2 separate regions of the Homo sapiens genome follow, and region 1 is linked to region 2. The links are contacts of gene promoters, found by promoter capture Hi-C in human tissues and cell types (Jung and others, 2019). All regions are on one chromosome and are shown on one strand. Each heading gives the region's core, a stretch centred on a gene start or on the middle of the fragment in contact. The rest is flanking DNA. Distances are from core to core; before and after follow the strand shown. Region 1 holds the start of TRS-AGA2-2 (tRNA-Ser (anticodon AGA) 2-2). Region 2 holds the start of PRSS16 (serine protease 16).

What was found. Contacts are between HindIII fragments. The study calls those that stand out against the background at their distance.
Region 1: a fragment that was not itself captured here is called in contact with the fragment with the promoter of PRSS16 in region 2 in 2 of the 25 tissues and cell types used here (mesendoderm cells and neural progenitor cells).

The regions. Positions count from the first base shown.
Region 1 is chr6:27,475,955-27,482,576 of GRCh38, reverse strand. TRS-AGA2-2 (tRNA-Ser (anticodon AGA) 2-2) reads right to left here and starts at 3,765; the gene lies at 3,684-3,765. TRD-GTC2-6 (tRNA-Asp (anticodon GTC) 2-6) reads right to left here and starts at 2,903; the gene lies at 2,832-2,903. It overlaps LOC105375001 (a long non-coding RNA gene), which reads right to left. Exons shown (of 2, transcript XR_926664.4): 2 at 6,597-6,622. RefSeq lists a silencer at 2,791-2,850. The HindIII fragment of the contact is 5,093 bases long and covers 1,607-6,622 here.
Region 2 is chr6:27,245,067-27,251,146 of GRCh38, reverse strand. PRSS16 (serine protease 16) reads right to left here and starts at 3,446. Exons shown (of 12, transcript NM_005865.4): 1 at 3,340-3,446; 2 at 3,099-3,265; 3 at 2,201-2,300; 4 at 1,918-2,047; 5 at 341-464; 6 at 28-105. The coding sequence starts at 3,409. RefSeq lists enhancers at 1-5, 146-215, 346-395. The HindIII fragment of the contact is 6,552 bases long and covers 1-6,080 here.

The DNA.
Region 1 (6,622 bases), core at 2,904-5,403, 230 kb before region 2:
TGAAGTCTCAAAACAACAGCCATTTTACCAATGGGGCTCCAACTGGGAGAGGCATGAACATCAACCTCTGTCTCCCTAGAACCATGCAGCTACTGGATCTCTACAGATCATTAGCCTTCCAGTTGCTCTTTCCTGTACTGGAACATCTTCCTGTGTAGGTACAACTTAGGAATTAGCCAGTAATATAAGGAGAATTTATAATACAAATTTGAGATCTTTCTCTGTGGTTCCCTCATCACTTGAATTTTGACCATCAAGTTCTATGCACGTTGGTAGCCCCAAACTCTGACCAGTATCTCCTTAGTCCAGCACAACTGCCTCTTTCCACATGAGGTCTATTCCACAATGGTGCAATACGGGACACACCTTCAGGAGGAAAGCACTTTCAAATGTGCAAACTCATATAATGTGCTTCCCTTCTCTCAAGGATTGTAGTTTGTCAAGCCTTGCCTGGGTTGACAGCTTATCAGTGCCTTCAAACAGTTGCTTTAAGTCGGGCTTGGTGGCTCACACCTGTAATCCCAGCATTTTGGGAGGCTGAGGCAGGTAGATCACGAGGTCAGGAGTTCAAGACCAGCCTGGCCAACGTGGTGAAACCCTGTCTCTACTCAAAATACACGCCTGCAATCCCAGCTACTCGGGAGGCTGAGCCAGGAGAATGGCTCGAACTCAGGAGGCAGAGGTTGTGGTGAGCCAAGATTGCGCCATTGCACAGCAGCTTGGGCGATAGAGCGAGACTCTGTCTCAAAAAAAAAAAAAAGCCAGAAACAAACAAACAAACAAAACAATTGCTTTATAGTTCTTATCCACGATGAATCATTTTTCTTCTAGATTAAAAAAGAAATAATAGATTAAAAGGAAGTAATAGAGACAAACGAGATTCAATGTTAGGTGAAAAGGATGAGGCATCAATCACTCTACTGTTCAATAGTGTTAACGAAAAAAAGAATCCATTGGCTGAAAGTGTTGCACAATAATATTAACTTTTAAATTTGATGGCCAAAATTTCATGACAAAAATGTTAATAATAATTATTTTTCTTTTTTTTTTTTTTGGAGACAGAGTCTTGCTCTGTCGCCCAGGCTGGAGTGCAATGCTGCAATCTTGGTTCACTGCAACCTCCGCCTCCCGGGTTCAAGTGATTCTCCTGCCTCAGCCTCCGAGTAGCTGGGATTACAGGTGCCCGCCACCACACCCAGCTAATTTTTGTATTTTTAGTAGAGATGGGGTTTCAGCAGGTTGGCCAGGCTGGTATCGAACTCCAGACCTCAGGTGATCCACCCGCCTCAGCCTCCCAAAGTGCTTGGATTAGAGGCATGAGCCACCTCGCCTGGCCAATAAGTATTTTTAAAACAAAATCAGACATATTGTTATATGCTGGAAGAGTATTCTTTCATTAAAGAAGCAATGCTGTTGGCTTTGATTATGGCTCACAAAAATATTGCTTTTAATATTCATCCATTCAGCGTTGGTCGAGGGTATATACTAGGTACACTTCTAATTCCTACCTTATTATAAAGGAGCTTAGAATGATTTGGATTTCGCCATACCTTTCCATTTTATATTGTCGTTGCTGTTTTGAAATTTAGTACCATTTGTTTTCATATTCCAACATGTAATCATTACGAAACAATGTTGTTTCAGGCATTCACTCTTTATGTAGCTTTTGTCACATGTTATGAATTTTCTTGCTCACTTATAACATTTTGAATCCCACTCCTTCATCAGTTCTAAATTCCTATTCATTAATGTAGTCGTCACTCTTGTCATATGCATTGTTCAAAATTGTATATTTGCCCTTTTACATTTTAATTCGTATATTTTCATTTATAGTTTTATTAGGCTTTTCTCCTTTTAACTTTCCATTCTGAAATTATTTTAGACTGACAGACACAGTACATGAATAATACAGATAATTCCTGAGCACCCTTCACCCCAATTCCCTCAATATTAGCACATTAAGGATATTCCTATATTTTCTTTTCCTTCTCTCTCTCATATATATACATAAATGTATATTTCTGAACTATTTGACAGTGAGTTTGAAGACACATACCTCCCCTTACCCTTAAATACGTATTTTGTAAATAGGTGTGAATTTTCTTAAAGACATTTTGTTCTATAACCATAGAACAATTAATACAATCAGGAATTCACATTCATAATATTATAAAATCTATAGACTTTATTGAGATTTCACCAACTATTTCAATAATGTCCTTTAAGATAAAAATTCCAGACCATATGTTGCTGTCATATCTTTAAGATCTTCTATAATGTGGACTATTTAGTCAGCCTTTCTTTGTGTTCTGTAACTTTGTTATTTTATTTATTTGTTTATTTATTTATTTATTTATTTATTTATTTTTCCTCCCTGCTTGCCTGTTACTAGGTTGATGCAAAAGTAATTGCAGTTTTTGAGGCGTACAAGTCAGTTATTTTGTTAAAATCTCCCTCAATATGGGTTTGTCTGATGTTTTCTGATTTAGATTACATATTTTTGCCAAGAATACCACAAAAGTGACGTTGTGCTCTCATGAGCACATCCTGTAAAAAAGGTATATAATGTAGATTCGTCCCAATACTGATTCAATCACTTGGGTAAGATGGTATCTACCCGGTTTCTCCACTGTGATGGAGATTACAGTGCAGAGTGGAAATTTTCTTGCTATTACAGAACCTCATGATTTCTACAGCTTATGGTTTTTGCGATCAGTATTTCGTTGGTTTGAAAGAACTCTGCTAAAGAAAAAGAGAACCCAACATTTGCCCAGAAGACTAGAGACTGTGTTTACCGGAAGTGTGCTTTTCTAAAAAAAAGTTTAAGCCTCCTCCCCGTCGGGGAATCGAACCCCGGTCTCCCGCGTGACAGGCGGGGATACTCACCACTATACTAACGAGGAATTGACGTGAAAATGGAGCTCTTAGGAAATCCCTGTGAAGTTACTCGCTATTGTCCATCTTTCTTTGCTCTGTAGTCACACGTTTCCCCTACCAAATATACGCAAGGCAATTCAGCGAACGTGTCTCCGCCCAACCGCGAATCCTCTCCAGTTCCTCCTTCATTCCTCGGACGCTTTGTCAGACCCTTTTAAAAAAGAACTCTCGCTAGCCTCCTTTGTGACGCACTGGTTTCCGTCTATGTTCAACCATGGTTGGAGCCCTAGCTAACATAGGAGTTACAAATCCCGAAAGGTGCATCGGTTGGTTTCAAAGACAGGAAAAGCAGAGGTGGGACCAATACCTGCGCTCCGTTGAGGTAAAATAGATAAAGAGTCTGCAGATGTATTTTTAAAGTTCAGGATGCGTCAAGTGGCACGCAGAAGCTTTATCACGAGTTCCCTCGCCCCCAAACTGAAAGCAAATATGACATCGTATTTCCTCTCTGAAGTAAATACGATTCCTCTCTGTTCTCAGTAAAACATCCCGAAGTCGGCAAAAGTTCAGGCTGCGTTAAGTGGCACGCAGAAGCTCTATTACGAGTTCCTTTACTCCCAAACTGAAAGCAAATATGACATCGTATTTCCTCTCTGAACTGTTCTCAGTAAAACATCCCGAAGTCGGCAAAAGTTCAGGCTATGTTAGGTGACACGCAGAGGCTCTATCACGAGTTTCTTTACTCCCAAACTGAAAGCAAATGTGAGATCCTATTTCCTCGCTGAACTGTTCTCAGTAAAACATCCCGTAGTCGGCAGGATTCGAACCTGCGCGGGGAGACCCCAATGGATTTCTAGTCCATCGCCTTAACCACTCGGCCACGACTACACGAATGGAGAAGGCTCCCTTCACATCTTTAAACAGAATTTACACCAGCTAACTGACAAGAAACGGTCAAAAGAACAAAATACGGTAAAAATGGTTTCCTGGGCAAGAAACTGGAGTCTGCGAGTTCATTAGAAACTCTAACGTGAAGTGCAAGTTGGATAAGACAAGCCAACCTCTCTGGGGCAGCCGCAAGGAGTCCTTGCCCTATCAGCAGTACCGTTTCCAGAAAACTAGAGACCACTGTACCTCTCTCACCTGGACCCAAACTGACCCCGCAAGGAAGTGGAATCAGACCCTCACCGTAAATCTGGGCCTGACACATTTAGTTTTTGTTTGAAACTTCCTCTCATTGAGGCTCCTTGATGAATGCTAATGGCTTTCAAGAAGGGACTAACTTTTGATTTGTGTCTGAACTGGAGGGCCAGAAAATGATGCAGAAAAGCCTACTTGCACTTTCTTGCTCTGATGAGGTCCCTAAGTCTCTAGGCTCACACCAACCCAAGGGAGTATATCTACCCGGTCTCGTTTGCACGGCATTTTGCATTTCACAATGCGCTTCCACGCTTCAGTTGGGTTAAGAAAGAAATTTATAGATTGTTCATGAGTTCCCATGGAACCAGGTTACCTATCAAAAGGAAGATCCTACTTTGATTTTTGGCCAAGGCAGACGCTCCTTCTCTCAAAATCTAACCCACGCAGTATGTTTTCTTTTCCTCTTATGCTTCCGTCTTGAAGTCTAAAGCTGCCGGTCCTGGAGTTTCCCTGAGCCCTTTGGATGCACAGATTATTGTAATTGGCTTTCATCTACTTCTTGGAACCATATACTAATCTAAGAAAAGAGGGAAACAATCGCAAGCTAAGAAATCATGTCGACTAAGTAGATAAATGAGGAAGAGGGACAAGAAGGAAGAGGAAAAGAAGAAAGTGACCAGAAAGGAGAAGAGAGAAAGGAAGGAGGGACAGGAGGTAGAAAGAAGAGGATGAAGGAGAAAGAAGAGGAGGAAGAGGAAGAGGAGAAACGAAGGAAGACCGGGAAGGGAAGAGACAGAGATTTTCTGAGGACCCTTGTTAGAGCTCAGAAAATGATACCCCAAAGTATGGCTCTTGGAAGTGCTGAGTACTTTGAACTAAAGAAGCAACCTCAGAATCAAAGTCTCTCTGACCTTCCGCAGCCCCACTGCCTCCTGATCCTCTTTCTTTCTTGAATGGCAGGGAGGGGCTTTCACTGAAGTTTCCCTTATTTGACTTACGGAGGTTCCTCCAGAAGGAAAGAGATTGTCATGAACCCTCTCCTGGAATCTGTATTAACCAGAGAAGATTAACTCAGATCCCAGGAGAGAAAACTAAAGGTCTCCATGCCCGGGACATCTCGCCCAGCCAGACTTCAATTCTTTTCTTCACCACCTATTCTGAGGGCTGCTACTTGAGAGACTTTATCTGTATAATAAGACAAGCTTTGTTCCCAGAGCTGTTCCTGCCCTGACCCTCACATTGCTTCTCGCCACCACCTTCCAGGAGCCTTCAAGCTCCTATTTCTTTATGTAGCTCCAAGTCCTATTTAAGCTTCAACCATCTGCCCCTTCTTTGAGTCTCACTTACACTTTCTGGGACCTCTGTGCATATGTGCATAATAAATGTGTATGCCTTTTCTTCTGTTAATCTGTCTACTAGCAGCTTTATTTCTCAGACTCAAATATCCAACCTCCAGAAGGGAGAAAAAAGATTCTCTCACCCCTACAGGCTCAAAAGAAGACTAAAAGAAATTCACTAGTTTTATGGAAGACCATAATTTGAGGGAATAGACATGAAGCAGTTTGATGGGGTAGCCAGGTGTCCATACAAATATAAGTTGTGCTATAGATTGTTGTTCATAGTTAATGCATATCACATCCTTTTTATTTGGTGGACATATTTTTATCAAGCACATCTTTATTTTTTTTTGCTGAAATCATTTGCAACTCCAGCTTTGAATAAAGTTAGATACCAAAGAAATATCAAATCTCTTTTAAGAAATTTAAAAAAATTTTAGAATCAGGGTCTTACTCTATCACACAGACTGGAGTGCAGTGGCACCATCATAGCTTACTGTAACCTGAACTCTTGGGCACAAGCCATCCTTCTGCCTCAGCCTCCAGAGTAGCTAGGAATAGAAGCATGCACCACCACTCCTAGCTAACTTTTTTTTCTTTGTAGAAAAAAAATGTATTTTCTTTGTATTCCTTGTATTTGAAGAAAAACTGACAATTTGCCTTTTTAAGTATAGAAGGACATTTGATTTGTTTCCAATTTAGGGCTAAAGTAGAAACTGGACTGGTTTTTGTTTCCTGCAACTAAGTCCTGACTCTCTACCTTTACTGAGATCCATTCTACTATGTTTTTGTTTTCAGCCCAGTAAAACAAGTAAGATTGCAGCTGTGGCCAGTCCCTAGTCATTGTTACAGTAAAACAAGCCAAAGTTGATTAGTAATTTCAGTTCAAATATATCACTAGTTGCTTTGTATTTTGCTGAGGTGTTTTTTTAAGCACAAAAGGTTTCTGAGGGCTGGGTTCAGTGGCTTATGGACTGTAACCCCAGCATTTAGGAAGGCCGAGGTGGGAGGATTGCTTGAGGTCAGGAGTTGGAGGCCACTTTGTGCAACATATAGAGAAGTCACTGAAGACAAAAATTATATCTTTCTGTGTCCTCAACATGTATTGAAAGCCTCATTTGTATAAGGTATGGCTAAAAGTTTTCCAAATCATGAGTGCTGGTTCCTTTGTGCTGAATAGTTCCTTCCTCAGTTTATTTCTTTCCTCATGCATTTCACCATAAGCAGCAATAACTAACCAGGTTGCACATTCCACATTTTACTTGGAA
Region 2 (6,080 bases), core at 2,197-4,696:
CCCGCACCTGCTGCCCGCCATCCTTACGTCATTATACTCGGAGAAATCCAGCACGGCCCGCACCGGGGCGGAGGAGGCGACCGACGCGAAAATGAGATGGGGGAACTAAGGGAGGAGACGCCGTCAGCCTGCGGGCTGAGGGGTTGGAATCGCATATCTTTCTGCCTCTGTGTCACTTACTCGCTGTGTAATCTCGGGCTCTTGTGAGGACAGCTTGTGCAAAATTCTTTGGGCGCGGGAGGAAGGTAGGGGCGTGGTGGGAGGGTATTCCTATTATCTGAGACTGGGGCCCTGGAGTCCGAGTTCCCTCCCCCCAGCCCACCCGGAGGAGTCGCAGGACCTTCAGCCGGGCCCAGGCGGCCAAGGAGCCGGCATAGGAGCCTCCGAAGCAGATCCAGGGGCTGGAGGAGGAGATGTTAAAGAGGCGGGAAAGTGCCAGGCGGGCAGAGACCACATCAGCCAGCCTAGGGTCAAAGGGGGGACTCGGTCGGTCCTCATCGCTGGGAATCCCTGAAGATTTCCCCATTCTGGGGGAAACCCGGATCCAGAGACATGAATGGGTGAATCTGGCCAGAAACCAGGGCCGTTTTCTCATGACGTGTTTCCAAGTGTTCTCCAAGCCACATACACTTCCCAGAACATGTGTGCCTAGGCCAAGGGAGACCCTGTCCTCGTCCACTTTCTAGAAAGCCACCACCCTCTTTCCCTTCTCGTTTTAGGTAGGAGAGGAAAAATTTCCAAGTCAGTTTAGATGAAAACCTGACAAATGTAGGGAAGGGTTGAGGGCACTCAAGGAGGGCTACTAAGAGGAGAAGGAGGGGTCCTAACCTGATGAGTTGCAAGGTATTGGGAGAGAGAACAGACACAAAGAGAAATGGAGAGTGAAGTTTGGATATGTCTAACATCCTCTTTCTCCTCCCAAGGGCTTTCTTTCTTCCCTAACCTTTCTGAATGGCTTGCAGTTGGTACCATCCTGTTGCAGTTAGAAAACCGTTTCGCTTGTAGAAAAGATTAAGATGCAGAGAGACAGAGATGGAGACAAAGAGGCACAGATGTAGATACAGAGACGGAGAAAATGAGACAGGCAAACAGACTGTTACAGACACAGACAGAGATACCAATGAGGAAAGAAAAAGCTAAGTTCTGTAAGAATAAAGCAGATGAAAGAAACAAAAAGCAGGTGAAGTAAAGTTGGAAAAATGGTGGCGGTCGTTAATAGGAGTGAGATGCACTGAAGGAGGCTGGGGTGAGAGGCATAAAAACATCTAGGGGAAGGCCACGCCATGCAGAGGGATGAGTTCAAAGGCTCAAGGCAGGAATGTGCGTGTAAGTCTGGAGGACAGTGAGGACTTCAATGTAGCTGGAGCCCAGTGAAAGTGAGAGAGTATAGGTCAGAGTTAACTAGAGGCCAAAACCCACTGGACTCCATGGCGACTGTAAAAGCTTTGACTTTACTCTGAAGTCAAATACAGTCAAAATTGCTTTACTTCTGAAGCAATACAGAAGATGTCTGAGGGACTTAAGCCAGGGAGGATCATGTCCTGGTTTATGCTCTAACAGAATTACTCTGATTTCCACCTGGAAGTCAAGGGCAGAGCAGGAAAAATGGTGAGAATGCTGTGGCCGTAATCCAGGTAAGGAATGCTGGTGGTCTGCACAGTGATACAGTGGCTTACTTCAGACAGAGACGCAGAAATAGAAAGAACACAGGATAAGAGAAAGACAGATAGGGAGAGTCAGAGACCCAGAAATGGAAAGAGAAAAAACAAGACCCTATGAAACACAGAAGAAAACAGAGGGAACCAGAGACTCAGAGGTTGACTTCAGACAGTGGAGGAGAGAGACACAGATGCAGAGATGCCAAAGCACAGACATTCCTGTCCTTTGACCATAAACACTTTCCCTTCCTCCACTCACGCAAGGCGGCTGGACAAGAAGCGGAGCTGGGCCATTTCCAGGCCTCCAGCAGGTATACTCAGGCCATAAAATCTGTGTTCCAGGCTTATCACCAGGGCGCCCCAGGCTGGGGCCAAGGCTGCGGGATGGCCTGTGAAGAGTGTATGGGTGGGGGGTGGGGAGGTGAGATGCAAGTTGAGTTTAAGCCCTTTCACTCCTCAGGTCTCACAGCATTGCAATATGCAGCTCCCCTTCCTGGTCCCCACCAGCATCCCAACTCCTTTCCCCCAACATTGCCTCTTACCTCTCATCACTGAGCCAGGCCCAAGGCTGCCCTCACCCCCTAGATGCAGGAATATGGGTCCATCCTGGCCAACCCAATGTTGGTCATTCACCCAGTAACGCTGAGAGGTGGGATGGGGAAGAAGAAATGGCACTGTGAGAGTCCTGACTTATTCTCAATTCCTCATTTGTTCCAGTCTCTCTTCCTAATGGATCTTTCCTTATGTACTTAACAGTGTCTGAAATGAGCTTGTTTATTTACTTGCTCACTTTTCCCCTGTTCATCTCCTCATCTAGAATGCAAAATATACAAAAGCAAATTTTTGACCTGGTTTTTCACTCTTATATCCCCAGAACTGAGGGAGTGGCTCTCACATTGAAGGAACTTGCTATTTCTTGAAGTAATAATTGTAAAATAAGAAATAAATGCAGATGGATTTAGGAATAAGATCCAAGTGGGATGATATTTGGAGACTAAATACAGAGGAAGCACTGAAAAATGGCGAATTTGTTCCTTCTTTCGATAGATATCTTTGAGTGCCTGTTGTGAGCTAGGTCTGATTCCAAAGCTGGTTCAAATTTCTGCTACCTACTGAGACCTGGTGGTAGGTTTTGTGTCCAGTCTGGACAGGGACAAGGGGGTAGGGAGGAGCAGTGAATGTGAATGACAGAGAGAAAGAAATGGTGAAGGGCAAGATCTGAGGGACAAAACGAGTGGGACCCCGAGGAGAGGAGAGAGTAAGGCCAAATCTACAAAGGGCAGGAAAAGGGATACTGACAGCAAGCATAACATGAGATTCAAGCAGAGGGATGGGGAGAACTGAGGTGTGGAGAGAGAAAAAAGTGCAGACTGAGGAAGAGATGAGGGAGACTGAGGAGAGGGCAGGATGGTTAGTGGACTCCCCGTCTCCCGGCCTCACCTGTAGGAAGGATCGTCTGTCGGACACGTTGAAGGGGTCCAGCAGTTGCTCCAGCCACCCCACTTTTGGGAGGGCTGCAGCACCTGGCCCCAGGCTCAGGCCCAGGCCCTGGGCAGAGCTCTCCTGAAACTGCTGAATGTGCTCACCCAGGCGCCTAAGAAGGGAGGCTGTGGGACATGGAGGGAAGGAAGTCAGGCTGGCCCCCTTAGGATGCCCTGCTTGACCCTCAGCCTCCTCTTACCTGGAGCCAAGAGTCCCCAGAGGGAAACCAAGAGCAGAGGGCCCAGCCACTGGGCAAGCCAGACGGCCATGGTGTTCGGGACTCTGTTCTCCCCCAGGAGGACCTTTATCTTATCCTCAGCAGCCGGGCCTTAAATCCATCACCTTTCAGCAGAGGCTCAGGTTTCTTTCCTTTCCTGGCAGGTCAAGCGTCTGTAGGAACTGCTAAAGCGGGGCAGGGACGCCAGAGTCTGTACACAGAGGCTGCTGATGCAGCATCGGAACTCCCAGTTTCTTCTCTCTGGGCCTCTCAGTCTGTTCTTCCCTCAGCTCTCAGTAGCCCTCGCTGTCTCAGTCTCCTCCTCTCCGCTCTTCGGTCTACCTTCTCTTTATCTCAGATTCCTCCTTTGCATGCCTTATTGTCCTTCAACCTCTGTCTCTCCCCACCTCAGCACCTCCTCTGGAACCCCAGTTGCCCACTTATTCTCAGTCTTTTCTTTCTGCCCCTCAGCATATCTTCAGTACCCCTCAGTTGTTCCCACACTCAGTCTTTCCGTCTCTTTTTTCTCAGTCCCCCATCTCTTTTTCAGTCTTTCTCTCCATACTCATCTCTTTGTCCCCCAATCTCACCTTGTCTATTTTCCAGCCCCCTCACTTTCTGCTCTGCTTCACTGTCCCGAGCTTCTCTGACCCACAATCTCACACTGTCCATAGACTCCTTACAGTTCTTTGAACATACCAGGCTTGCTTCTGCCTTAGGGTTCTTATTCTTGTTGTTCCCACCCTATGGATTGTGATTTCCCTATATACCCACGTGGTTTGCTCCCTCACTTCAACTGGATCTTTATTCAAAGGTCATTCATTCAGAAAGGTCTTCCATGGTCAGCTTTTTAAAAATTGCCAAACCTATGGCCCTCTTCTATTCCTTTTCAAACTTTATTCCTAATTCTTTTTCATGGGACTTATCACTATGAGAAATATTGTACATTTAAAAAGTTATTCCCATAAATTTAAAAAATATATCCAGAATCTGATGACTTCTCACTACCTTCAGTGCTACCACTGCTGAGCCACCATCATCTCTGACTTGGGATATCATGGAAGGCTTTTAGCTGGTCACCCTGTTTCTGCCTCATGATTTATTCTACACTCAGCAGACAGAGAGACAGAATTAAATATTAGCCCAATCATTCACAATCATTCACTCCCTGGTTTAGAACACTTCCCTGATGCCCCATCTTACTCAAAGTAAATCTAAAGTTTTGAAAACAGTTTTTAAAACTCTGTATGACCTGGCCCCCTGTTGTATATACTGTCATGATTTCATCTCCTACCCCTCCTGGGTTCACTGCTCCAACTGCATTGGACTATTTCATATTTCACAAGACTCACTCCTTCCTTAGAATTTTTGCTCTCCTTAGGATGCTTTTCCTCCAAATATCTGCAAGTCTTATTTTATCACTTCCTATAGTTCCCCATTCATATATTTTATCTTACCAAATGGGTTTTACCTGACCACCCTTATAAATGGCACAACACCTGAGACCCTGTCCCCTGATCCTTCTGTTGTCACTCCCTGATAGTGATGACATTTTATTGCACTTCTCTCCCAAACCATTCCCCAGGAAGTAAGCTTATTCTGGGAAGCAATTTTGTCTGTTTTGTTCACTGGTGTACCCATAACACCCAAACTACTTCAAGGCACTTGAAAGGTTCTCAATGAATATGCAGTGAGCAAAAGGCTATATGGATAAATTGATTAATTAATGAATTAGTTTTCTGCTCAGGAAAGAATTCCCTAAGAATGTGACCTAAGAGTTGAGGCAAGGGAGTGAGTGGGGAGGGAGGAAGGCAGGGAAAAAAATACTTGAGGTAAGAATGAGGAGCCAGGGGGAGCATGAGGTTATCTGGAGTCAGAGGGTTTCTGGCCCAAGAAAGAGCAGGTGCAAAGACTCTGAGTCACAAACCTGCTTGGCACCACCAAGGAACATCAACAGTTAGTGGGCTGGAAAGTCAATGAAGGAATTTGAATTAGATGAGAAGAGAGAAGTAATCAGAGATTCAACCCTGCTGGCAAGCCATAGAAAGGGCTTTGGCTTTTATTTAAAGACTGATATATGGCCGGGCGCAGTTGCTCACGCTTGTAATCCCAGCACTTTGGGAGGCCGAGGCAGCTGGATCACAAGGTCATGAGTTCGAGACCAGCCTGGCCAACATGGTGAAACCCTGTCTCTAGTACAATTACAAAAATTAGCTGGGCATGGTGGGGAGGCGCCTGTAATCCCAGCTACTCAGGAGGCTGAGGCAGGAGGATCGCTTCAACCCGGGAGGTGGAGCTTGCAGTGAGCCGAGATCATGCCACTGCACTCTAGCCTGGGCAACAGAGCTAGACTCCATCTCAAAAAAAAAAAAAAAGGACTGATATGTTGCCGTAAGGGTCTTTTAAAACCTTAATACATAAGTGAATTTAAAGTTGGGTGTGGTGGTGCATGCCTGTATTCTCAGCTACTTGGGAGGCTGGGACGAGAGGGCTGGGAGTTCAAAGCTGCAGTACACTGTGATCGAGCCTGTGAATAGCCACTGCACTCCATATTGGGCAACACAGTAAGAACCTATATTTAAAAAAATGTATTAATAAATTTCTAAATTTATTTTTCGATAAATACGAATTTACTTAGTTGTTTTAATTGCTAGACTGGAAAGACAGGGATGTTTATCCCAACTCAATAATAAGACAAATAGCACAATTGGAAATGGAAAAAG